Regions from separate parts of the Homo sapiens genome. Here region 2 is linked to region 1. The links are contacts of gene promoters, found by promoter capture Hi-C in human tissues and cell types (Jung and others, 2019). All regions are on one chromosome and are shown on one strand. The core of a region is centred on a gene start or on the middle of the fragment in contact, and the rest is flanking DNA. Distances in the headings are between cores, read along the strand shown. Region 1 holds the start of CDC25C (cell division cycle 25C). Region 2 overlaps FAM13B (family with sequence similarity 13 member B).

Evidence for each region. The method cuts DNA at HindIII sites, captures the fragments that hold promoters and counts their contacts. A contact is called where the count stands out against the background at its distance.
Region 2: a fragment that was not itself captured here is called in contact with the fragment with the promoter of CDC25C in region 1 in 1 of the 25 tissues and cell types used here (aorta).

Annotation. Positions count from the first base shown.
Region 1 is chr5:138,329,629-138,335,863 of GRCh38, forward strand. CDC25C (cell division cycle 25C) reads right to left here and starts at 2,176. Exons shown (of 14, transcript NM_001790.5): 1 at 1,967-2,176; 2 at 1,359-1,590; 3 at 1-19. The coding sequence starts at 1,552. LOC100128966 (a long non-coding RNA gene) reads left to right here and starts at 2,477. Exons shown (of 4, transcript NR_146628.1): 1 at 2,477-2,557; 2 at 3,805-3,900; 3 at 5,757-5,857. RefSeq lists enhancers at 1,334-2,287, 1,999-2,128, 2,139-2,188 and a silencer at 2,239-2,498. The HindIII fragment of the contact is 27,615 bases long and covers 1-6,235 here.
Region 2 is chr5:137,958,913-137,965,255 of GRCh38, forward strand. It overlaps FAM13B (family with sequence similarity 13 member B), which reads right to left. Exons shown (of 24, transcript NM_001385994.1): 11 at 3,493-3,557; 12 at 1,254-1,302; 13 at 704-851. Among named protein-coding and RNA genes, the nearest start is that of FAM13B-AS1, 71 kb to the right of the region's middle. The HindIII fragment of the contact is 3,541 bases long and covers 1,542-5,082 here.

The sequences.
Region 1 (6,235 bases), core at 926-3,425:
GCAACGTTTTGGGGTTCCTCTGTTGAGACATAATAGTACATCGAAATTCCCATTAGATTATTATATCCTTAAAAGTCAAAGATCATGTCATCCTCTTCTTTTTTTTTTTTTTTTTTTTTTGCAGTGGAGTCTTGCTCTGTCCCCCCAGCTCAAGTGCAGTGGCACGATCTTGGCTCACTGCAACCTCCGCCTCCCGGGTTCAAGCGATTCTCCTGCCTCAGCCTCCCAAATAGCTGGGATCACAGGCGCCTGCCACCACGCCCAGCTAATTTTTGTATTTGTAGTAGAGATGGGGCTTCACCATGTCAGCCAGGCTGGTCTTAAACTCCTAACCTCAGGTGATCCACCCACCTCGGCCTTCCAAAGTGCTGGGATTACAGGTGTGAGCCACAACGCCTGGCCAAGCCTGTTCATTTGAAACACCCCTTAATGACTATCAGATCATCTGAACAGTGTCCAAATAAATCTAATTGCTTTTGGGAAATATATCAGACTGGGCTGAGAAAAATCTCCCACTACCATAATCTGTACTTTATTTTCTCCTTACCAACATACTGAAACAGATAATTTTTTTTTTTTTAAATGAGGCCCAGAGTTTATTGGCCGAGGGGGATCTTGACTCCACATTCCCGGTCCTGAGCACTATGAACACAGGCTTGATTTCTCCCTGGGGTCCCTAGTTTTTCTCAGGTACTACTTCTCTTTGCTAGTTGAGACATGGTATGATCAGAATTCAAAGTACAACTGCAATAACACTAATATTAATACTAATAAAGTGACCGACTCGTAATGCAGCGGTTTTCAAAGACTTTTCCCAGTTATCACATCATTTGATTCTCACAAGATCCTAGTAAGATAGGAAGCGATTATTATTTCTTTGTCTTTTCTTTTCTTTTTGAGATAGAGTCTCACTCTGTTTCCCAGGCTGAAGTGCAGTGAGGCGATCTTGGCTAACTGCAGCCTCCACCTCCCGGGCTCAAGCAATCCTCCCACCTCAGCCTCCCGAGTTGCTGGGACTATAGGTGCACACCACCACACTCAGCTAACTTTTAATATTTTTTGTAGAGACGGCGTCTTGCCATGTTGCCCAGGCTGGTCTTGAACTCCTAGACTCAGGCGATCCGCCCTCCTTGGCCTCCCAAAGTGCGGAGATTACAGGCATGAGCCACCTCGCCTGGCTGAGATTATTTCTTGTCACAGAAAAGAAGGTGAGACTCAAAAGGGTTACACAGTCAAGGGCAGAGTTGAGACTTAAAGCCTGACCTTTGAGCCGGGATAATTGAAAACAAACCAACAAACAAACCCAACTGTTTGGAAATAGCAAAGGCAATACAGTGTAAAAATAAAAGTATATTTACCCAGACAAAATGCTTAGGTTTGCAGAATCACCAAGAAATTTGCCCACTGGAGTTCTAGGGACATCTGGACAGACGGTAAAGGAAGTGTCTCTCTCCAGGAGCAGGTTTAACATTTTCCTTTGATTAGACCTAAAACTGGGTCCTGAGCCAGAGCTTCCTTCCTCTCTTGTGGATGAGAAGAGTTCCGTAGACATGGTCTTCGAATTCTCACCAGGAGAAAAACAAAACCTAGCTAGGAGGAAAACGTCATCTAAATCGGTACATCACAGTTCCCTCAGCTTTCCTAAACTCCTCCACCCTTTCCAGCCAGGCGAATCAACACTGGAAGAGGGGCAACCCCGAAGGGTGATTCACAGCCTGGCTTAAGGTTAGAACCTGAATTCACCGACGAGAGGCAACCTTAGGACCTTAAAGATGGAATGAAGAGAGGATTTTGACTTGTTCCACGCCACACAGCTCGAGACTCCTGACTAGAAAGAACCCGGGTCTCGTAACTCGCGATAGTCCCCATTCGGCCCTCCCAACCTCTGTCTGTGGGGGCCCGACTGGACCCTAAGGGGGACAATGGGGTCTCCGTGATTCCGTGGCGGAGACGGCTGCGGACTTACCTCAAGCCTGGAGTCTGAGGCTTGCCTACAAGAGGAGAGAAAGTAGATAGGGATCGGACACAGGCGAAGACTTGAGCAGAATGAAAGGAAATCTAGGGGAAAGGAGGTAGTTAACTAGATTGCAGCTCTGCCTTCCGACTGGGTAGGCCAACGTCGGACTCAGAGTCTTCCCTGAGCAGAAGGCCAAAGTTACGGCCTCTGAGCAAGAATATCAACAGCCGCAGGCGTTGACCATTCAAACCTTCCGCCAGCCCAGTAACCTATCCCCGCTCGCCTCTAAGCTGCGTCAGCCAATCTCCGCGCGCGCGCCCAGGGCCTCATGGCCTATCGTTGGGCTCGCAGATCACCTGGGGGCGTGTGCTTGCTCTGGAAATGGTAAGACTTGCCCCGCCCCATAGCCAGAGCAGGATAGTGTTTGGCCCACCAGCGTTAGGCAGGCTGCGGGGTAAGCTCCGCCTCACGGGGAGCCTGGCGCATCATTGGCTCTCCCTCTCACCAATCTCCACACCCTTTCTGTTTTCCTCGTTCCCTCAGCCCCACGAACCCCGGGAGATTTAAACCGCGCCTTACTAGTGATGTCCATTCACTAGGGTAATACTAGGAGAGATTATTTTGGGTGGAGGGTGTTGTAAGCGTTTCATTTTCTTCGCTTCTTTCTCGTGCCGTTTTCGCGGACGTTTTCTTCTAAGTTTTGCTGGCCTTCCACGGGAGATGGAGCGTTTGCTGCCGGCGTGGCAAGTGTTGGGGCGAGACGGGTGTGTGTGTTTATGCTGAGAGGCATTAGCCCCTTCCAAGAGCTTTGTTTGGTGTTTCTTTTAGTGTGCAGCATCTCAGAGACTCTAGCTCACGTGGGTAAAAAGAAATTCCGTTGCAGGGAAAGTGGAGGAATTAAATCATCTTGGTATAATCCTTATCGCAATCCAGAGGACCTCAAAGATTGGTTATTAATGAAAATTTGAACATTGACGAGGTGATATTTATAAATTATTGGCCGGACGCGTTGGCCCACACCTGTAATCCCAGCACTTTGGGAGGCCGAGGCGGGCAGATTACATGAGGTCAGGGGTTCAAAACCAGCCTGGCCAACATGATGAAACCCCGTCTCTACTAAAAATACAAAATTTAGCCGGTTGTGGTGGCACACACCTGTAATCCCAGCTACTTGGGAGGCTGAGGCATGAGAACTGCTTGAACTCGGGAGACAGAGGTTGCGCCACTGCACTCCAGCCTGGGCATTAGAGTGAAACAAACAAAAAGACATTCCTAATGTTAGGGATTTGCTTTTAAATAATCCTGTGCTGGGGGAAGGTATTGATGATACAAGATTGACCCTGACTGTTGAGTGATGGGGGCAGGAGGGTCCATCATATCTGTGCTTCTCAAGGTTTAATTTGCACACTAACCACCTGAGGACCTGCTAAATGCAGATTCTGATTCGGGATGTCTGGGTTGCGGTTGCGGCCCAAGATTCTGCCCTTCTAACAAGCCCCCAGCTGATGGTGAGGTAGCTGGTCCTACGACCATACTTTGCGTGGTAAGGTATTACCCCATACTTCTTACTTCAATGTATATTTGAAAATTTCCATAATAAAAATGTTCAAAATAACCTTGGAAGCTCTTTAAGATGTAGGCTCCAAAAACGATAATTCGATAGGTCTAAAGTGGGGTCATTATCAAGGCCCCCAGGTGCTACCCATGCAGACGGCTTGCAGATCATGCTTTGAGAAACAAAAGTCAAAATGCAACTTGTGTCTGTTGTCAGGATCTTGGTGGTGGTAGTGGCTGAGAGGCACAGTGTAGCCAGCTGGTTTTTATCCTAATACCCTTTTCATCTGCAGAACCTGCTTCCCCAGAAAGGAGATGTGTGAAGATTCTTTGTCCTCTAGGATACAGACAGTGAGTGTAGGAGTTAGCACAGAACCTTGCTATGCCAGGTGAGTTTGAAAATCAGGCTGGGGATTAAGGGAGTGTGGGATGAGTTGTTATCTGCTTTGACGACTACAGTATAATCACACTTTGTGGGAAATTGTATACTTCCCTGCAGGTGGGAAGTAGAGACAAAGTTATTCTCTATTGGTGGCAAAAGCAGATAGATTATGGCAAGTGCACACCTGGCTACCAGTGCTTTCTGCACCAGGTCCTCAAGTAAGTGCAGTTGTGGGTGGTCACAACAAAGGTGTCAGCCAAGTGGCTTTAGTTCAATGTCAGGTGATGGAAATATACTAAAATCTGAGCACTCTGACAAAGTTGCAGCATTCCTAAAACAAATTCTCCAAAAATCTAGCCCCAAAAATAAGTTTCTGAGATTTCTCAAATGGAACTTATACACCTAGCTCTTAAGAGTATTTTTTTTTTTTTTAAGATGGAGTCTCGCTCTCTCCCGGGCTAGAGTACAGTGGCGCAATCTTGGCCCACTGCAACCTCTGCCTCCTGGGTTCAAGTTATTCTCCTGCCTCAGCCTCCCGAGTAGCTGGGACTACAGGTGCCCGCCACCACGCCTGGCTGATTTTTGTATTTTTAATAGAGGTGGGGTTTCACCATATTGTCCAGGCTGTTCTGGAACTCCTGACCTCAAATGATCCACCCACCTCGGCCTCCCAAAGTGCTGGGATTACAGGCATGAGCCACTGCGCCCGGCCGCCCTTAAGACTTTTTACAGATGCAGTGGTGCGCCTGTAGTCCCAGCTACTTGGGAGGATCACTTGAGCCCAGGAGTTTGAGGCCAGCCTGGGCAACATAGTGAGACTGTCTCCTAAAAACAACAACAAAAAAACTTTTTTTTTTTGAGACAGTTTCTTTCTTGTTGCCTAGGCTGGAGTGCAATGGCGCAATCTCAGCTCACTGCAACCTCTGTTCAAGTGATTCTCTTGCCTCAGCCTCCTGAGTAGCTGGGATTACAGGCATGCGCCACCACACCTGGCTAATTTTTGTATTTTTAGTTGAGACAGGGTTTCGCTGTGTTGGCCAGGCTGGTCTCAAACTCCTGACCTGAGGTAATCCACCCACCTCGGCCTCCCAAAGTGCTGGGATTACAGGTGTGAGCCACCATGCCCAGCCAACAAAACTCTTAAAAGCTCTACGTTTGTTAATGAGGTTGTTTTCCTAGCAAACATTTTCACTATCTCCTCATGATTCCAGCTGGCTTAGCTAATTGCAACATACTTAGCTAATTACATGTAAGTTTACATGCATACATACAAACTGTGAAATGGTAGAATTATTTTAAAGGGAAGTCAAATATTGTCTTTTATATCTTGATTTATGAGGGTGTTGGAATATATCTAAGTTATCCTTCCCAGAAGAAAGAATATTAGGGAGGTGGGAAGTTTGGTGTTTAATCTGATTTGAAGATTTACTTTTTCTGTTGGATTGAGGGCATTGATCCTATGTCATCCTTGGGGAATCCCTATCTAGGCTCCTGATTCACTGTGATAAGCAGTGAGCTGTGTTCCTTCACCTTGACCTCAGTCTGACTCATACATGTTGTTGCCAGGGCACAGTGACAGCCCGGGCTTCACCCTGAAACACCAAACAAGAACAGGAGGTACAGCCATCACTCCTGGGATGCCCAGATCAGGCAGTGGAGAAGAGCCCTGCATTCCTGGGATCCTCCCAGCCAGCCTCTGCAGGGCAGAGGGGCTGAGGGGTGTGTTTTCTATTCCTGGTTCTTTTTATGACTGGTAGGCTTAGCCCTACTTCTCCCCACTTTGCAGAGGTTTAGCTTTCACTGGGTGAAAAGGGAAGGTCTGAATCGAGTGCATGTTCCTCCAACTCGGCTGTTCCTTCCTAGGCAGGGAATGAAGAGTCTTAGAACCAATGGATTCCACTCCTTTGGATGACCTCCTGGATGACTGGCTCCAGGCCCTGGAGCCCTCAGAATATGGATGGAGAGTATCCTTTGCTGAAACCCACTGGAGCAGGGTCACAGATGGGGTTTGGCCCATGAGGGCATAATTAAGATGCAGTTCAAAGCAGTGGCTCAAGAACAAAAGACTAAAAAGGGGGCAGCAGGGAAAGAGCAGGACATGAGTAAAAAATCCTTGGGAACTAAAAGTGGAATAAGGAGATTTAATTATGGGTAGGAGTGTTGGGCTGCACTGGGAGGCCATTTTATAGATGACGAAAGGGGATGTAACCTTCCTTTGAAATGAGGCCTGAAACTTGACTTGCAGGGTTTTTTTTTTTGTTTTGTTTTTTTTGTTTTGTTTTGGGTCTCAGTTTCTTTCAATGTTTTGCAAATGAGCCAATGCCTACTTTTAACTCAACCAT
Region 2 (6,343 bases), core at 2,062-4,561, 370 kb before region 1:
TTTCCCCATAAACACTCCAGCATGCAAATCATCCACTGAAGTTCAGCATTTGTTTACAGTTTTTTATCCTCTTGAAGTAAAAAGAGAACTTTATATACAAAGAAACACAAAAATCTATGTATTTGCTGAGTTTTGAGAAATGCATATACCCATGTTGTTTGCTTGTTAAATTTTAACTTCTCTCCTTTGTGCAAATTTTTAGAGTCCCCTGCACCATACCTTCATAACCTAAGACAGAAATACAGGAATATGGTACAATATTTGTTTAGAAGTACCCTTGAAGGTCATTTTTCAAAAAAGTACTACTGATGATACTAAGGACAAGGTAATTATACACGCTCTGCTTAAACTGGTGAGATCCCTAAGCCTTAACATACTGGGCTTCCAAAGACTAGGAGATAGCACCTGATTTAAATATTAACAAAAACGTATGCTGGGTGACTTTTTAAAAAAATCAGTTCTAACATCCATTTTCAAAGCTGTTGATGGATCAGACAAGAACTTCTAGTTCATATGAGATGCTGCCCCAAAATCTCAGTGTGTTTCACTAAAAACACCCACTTGTTCATCTTACATGAAAGGGAGAACAGAAGATCAAGATGAATAAGGTTATCCAGAAAAGGGCTGTAGTCTTATCATTGCTTAGGGTAATTTCGGTTACAAGTAACATTATCAGGAAAATAATGCGTGTGGGTAAAATTACCTTCCCATTTATCACCATCAGAAACATTCTTCAGATCTAAATGTGGAATACTGACACACGCTGCTTCCCCTTGAACACCAACACTCTGACCTCCTGGTACTTCTGATTCAGTGTTGGCATTCAAATCACATATCTTGCTACTAGAATCCTGTATTTTAAAATAAAGAATATATTTCACAACTACGGAAGCTTTTCACACCCAGCTTAAACACATCCAGCACATATCCAAGTGTAGTCTTCATTAGTTTACTGTGCCTATACAGCCAACTGTCCCACTCCCACTGTGCAAACTATTTTCAAATATAAACATGCAGTTTTAGAATATGTCTTATTGGAAGACAAGTTTGGATCCCAAATTCAGGAAAGTGTTTTCACAACCAAGTCTCTTGTAACCAAAAGTGGCAAATTAAGTTGCTGTTTAACTGTAAAATATTTGGTAAGAGTATTTATATTTAAATCTTTAAACCTAGCTAACCCACATTAAAGACCAGACATAACAGTTTAAACCTAGGCAAGTTTTTAAAGACTAAGACAAAAAAATAGTTCTTACCAGAATCAAGTGTGACAATTTATCACTGTCAAATAACAAATATTCTTCCCTAAAAATACAAGTAAAGTTGTTAGTATATTAAGAATAAAAAGGCTACTATCATTATATATTTCTTACCTAGATTCCTCTACTCCATAACACAGTTAGCATTTACAATGTGCGAGGAGAAAATGCCAACTGGACACATGCCCATTCTTTGGAGCCCTATATCTGAAAAATCACACAATACTGAAAAGATCCACAGAATCACTTCGGGTTTAGAAAAATCAAGTAACAATCCCTACTCCACCCCACAAACCACAGCAAAAAAGAAAAACCTTTATAAAATGAAAACTAAAATCCACAGTAAGTAGAAACCCAAAAGAATGAATGTATAATAAAGATTTTATAAAATAAATGTTTTAACCAAATAAACAGCTCTATTCTCTCCATTCTTGAGACTTTCAAAGAAAACTTTTTAAAAAGGTATCACTATGTCTTTTACTTTAAACTTGACTGTATTCTATCACAAGGATACTACTTCCAATCAGAGAAGGTTACTACTTCCAAACCTTTCCCTCCTCAAAATATAACAGTAACATACTAAAAGGAAATTTTAAAAAATTTCAGTCCACCTTTTACTTCCCCAGAAAAACTAACCCTTATTTAGAACAAGTGTTATAGCAAGCTGTCGTAAGTGATCTGTACCTATTTTACCAGTCAAGAGAGCACCTGCTATTATACAGTAGATTATCAATATGCCTACTGGGGGAAAGTTCTTTTCCCCAAAGACACAGTGGCAATTTACAATGACACATCGAGATGTCACTTCTAACCGGCCATAACAGAGTATGCACTCAGGAGACATGCCTTGATCTAAATATTGCAAGTCATCTTCTCATACAGATAATTACCTTATTCTTGCTGAGAATAAGAAATGAACTAAATGCTCTGTTAAGCTTAAAGGCATTCCTTTGCTTAGAGTAGGAGCAAATGGTAGGATGAGTAATTACTACCTTAGCAGCCTAAAAGACCTAATCACCTACATTTGAGAAGCATGAATGTTAAACATACAAAATGTAATCCACCTAACCAAGGTACTCTGGATCTAAAAACCAGTTTGCTAACTTATACACAGTTGAAGTTGAAGAGGAGAGAGCTTTTTCCAAAAACAACAACAACAACAACAACAACAACAACAACAGAAGAGTCCTCACTAAATGGGTCCTTATTGTTCTACCAAATCCAGATGTCACTATTCTGGGGGTGCCTGTTAATGTTGTTAATTTTATATCTTCAGCCCATAGCTCCAATACTTCCTGGGCTGGAAGAGGATGATTCCTGCCTCCTGAAAGGAAGGACAAGGAACTGCTATAAGGAAATCTGTGGACCTTCAGAGTATGGGGAGGCTCCAGAGACGTGGCTCCAAAGAATTTGCTTACCCTTAAAGAACAGGCTTCCTACTTATAATTAAAAGAAACAATAGAATACAAATATGTCCTGGCCAACAGGCTGTCAGCAAATTAGTATACTGTCTGGGATCTCTCAATATTTACAATCTAGCCTGCAACTTCATTACTGAAGTGTTTTCAGAATCTCAAATCACCTTCCTAAGAAAGTTATACTTTTTGGCAGCATCTTGAAGACTGATGCAAAGGGTAACAAGAACCCAAATCTTACTCTGTGATTTAAAACATTCTAGAAAGCTTCTATTCAAAGAGGCTATCTATTGAGACTCTACATTAGTCGAAATACTCATTGCCTCCAGTATTTCTCTACCATTACAGCCAGCCAAAGAGGTTAAAAAAGCACCAGCTGCCTAAGAGTGTACTGAGACACACCAAGGATAAATTCAAAGAGGAAGAAAAACATCCTATACATATTTGTTGAATCAAATACAGTATCTCTCAGTTAGTTATACACAGTTACAAGATCATGAATTAACTCACTGACAGGTATACTCAGAATATCAGTAAATTCCCAATTGTTCCACAATCAACTGAAAGATTTAAATGTCTCCAAAAAGGCTGTTTTTCCCTCTGAATGTTTTCCAAGTTATAACTACTGTCTGAACCTGTACAAATCCAAACATTTATGGGTATTTAATATCCTTTATGCCTACCATTATAACAAGAAGGCTGTTTAAGATTATCTAAACTATATATTTATAATGGACATTCATCTAAAAAAATCACCTCAAAAATCTGTGAAGAGCTCCAATTCTCAAAATGATTAATTAGCAACAAGAAAAAATGCTTACCTCTCAAGACAGCCATCTTCACTATCACCACGGTCACTGCATGGCTCTAACAATATACCTACAGACTGACAAAAAGAACACTACCATGTATTAATGGAGCTCCCAATACTCAGATAAGAGAAGTTGCCAATCTAAATTAGGATATTAGAATACAGATTAGTCAAACACCCCTAATTAGCTATCATTTATAATAGTCTGTAGTACTTAGCATCTCTTTTTACAGAGAGTAATTTATCTTCCCTCAAAACCTGGGTCATATGAAGTATAGCAGGTACTCTGCATTTCTCTCTATTAGGTAATATGTATCACCACTACCATCCTTCTTCCTTAGAATTATCTCCTCCAAAATGATGGTCTTCTGATCCTGCTTGCCAACTGCTGCTTGCTTTATTTCTCCTCAGCTACAAAGATACAAGTTTGGTGACTTCTTGTAGGTAAGATAGGAGTCATAGAGGAGTTCACTAGATTCCTTTGTATATTTGAAGTAATAACTATTTTCCACAAAGAAAGTCCCCACATGAGAAAACTCTCCCATTTTCCAACGAGCTTAGTGACACCATCTCATCCCTATTCCCCCCCAAACTAAAAACCTACCAAGTCTAATACAAATACCCAGAGAATTACTACAAAATACATGAACGTTGTGGTGTTTTTGATGATCACCTTTCAAATCAACAAAAGGTTCCATACTTCCTAGACTCTCTGATTCTTCTTTAGAAAGTAAGTACCACTTGTCCAGCTTTGTTTAGCGTGAAAGAAGGTCCACAAGAATCTGCAAAAAAAGCTGTTAAAATACTAGTCCCTTTTCAAACTACACATCTGTGAGGCTGTCTCATATGCTTCAACAAAACAATGTAACAGCAACAGACTTAAATGCAGAAGCATATACAAGAATCCAGCTGTCTTCTGTAAGTCAAACAGGTATCAACAATATTTCTAGCTATGTAAAACAATGCCACTCCTCAAACTTAAAAAATTTTATGAAAACAGTTATCTATTGTGGAAAAGAGCAACCTTACTTATGTTACCATAAATGAGTTTGTTAAATTAATGTTTTTTAAATTTACCAGTTTTAATTCCTAATATGGTAAATCCTAACAGATATACCTATGTAAACAAAAGCTCTTTGGGATCTTCAATATTTTTAAGAGTATGAATGAGTCCCTGAGACCCAAAGTGTGAGAACCACTGATACAGAAATCAGACTTCGGTAACTTTTATGATCAATAACAGGTGTCCCCAACCCCTGGACCGGTACCGATCGCTAGCCTGTTAAGAACCAGGCCACACAGCAGGAGGTGAGCAGCTGGGGGAGTGGGGAGTGAGCACTATGGCATGAGCTCCGCGCCTCCAGTCATATGAGTGCTGGCATTAGATTCTCAGAGGCATGGACCCTATTGTGAGCTGTGCAAACAAGGGATCTAGGTTGTGTTCCTTATGAGAATCTAACTAATGCTTTGATGATGTGAGGTAGAACAGTTTCATCCCAAAACCCCAACCCCCTATCCACCATCCATGGAAAAACTGTTGTCCACAAAACCAGTCCCTGGTTCCAAAAATGTTGGGGATCTCTGCTCTAGAAGATAGCTTTACATTCTGAAGGTTTCTGGGCACATGAAATAACCATTACCCAGACCAAATATTTAATTTTTATTTATTTACTTAAAAAAATTTTTTGAGACAGTCTCACTCTGTCATCCAGGCCAGAGTGAGGCTCATGCAGGTTCACTGCAAACTCCATCTCCTGGGTTCAAGCGATTCTCCTGCCTCAGCCTCCCGAGTAGCTGGGACTACAGGTGTGGTGCCAGGACACCTGGCTAATTGTTTTGTATTTTTAGCAGAGATGGGGTTTCAGCATGTTGAATAGGGTAATTTTTTTGTAATTTTAGTAGAGATGGGTTTCGGCATGTTGGCCAGGCTGGTCTTGAACTCCTGACCTCAAGTGATCCATCTGTCTTCAGCCTCCCAAAGTCCTGGGATTACAGGCATGAGCCACTGTGCACAACCAGACCCAATATTTAAAATGAACCTTGGGGCCAGGCACAGTGGCTCACACCTGTAATCCCAGCACTTTGGGAGGCTGAGGCGAGCAAATCACTTGAGATCAGGAGTTTGAGACCAGCCTGGCCAACATGGCGAAACCCCATCTCCACTAAAAATACAAAAATTAGCCGGGCGTGGTAGCACACACCTGTAGTCCCAGCTACTCGGGAGACTGAGACAGGAGAATTGCTTGAACCCAGGAAGCAAAGGCTGCAGTGAGCCAAGATTGCACCACTGCACTCCAGTCTGGGTGACAGTACAAGACTCCGTCACAAACAAACAAACAGAACCTTGGTATCTCACTCAAAAGAACCAAATTCAAGCCCTAGCTCTGCCTTTCTCATCACAAATATGAGAATAACAATAATTTACTTGACTACCTCAGAGTTACCACAGAGAATCAAAAGAAATAGCTTATAAGAAAAACCATCTATATTGGCCAGGCACAGAGGCTCACACTTGTAATCCCAACACTTTGGGAGGCCAAGGCGGATGGATCACTTGAGGTCAGGAGTTCAAGACCAGCCTGGCCAACATGGTGAAATCCCGTCTACTAAAAATACAAAAATCAGCCAGGTGCAGTAGTGTGCGCCTGTAATCCCAGCTACTCAGGAGGCTGAGGCACAAGAATCACTTGAACCCAGTGGGGAGGAGCAGATTGCGGTGAGTGGAGACTGTGCCACTGCACTCCAGCCTGGGTGACAGAGCGAGCCTCTGTTTCAAAAAAATATAAAATATATAAATAAAATAAAATATCAGCAGGCAAAATAACCCATACCTTCTCCCCACTTCCTCCCATGTGCCCTTC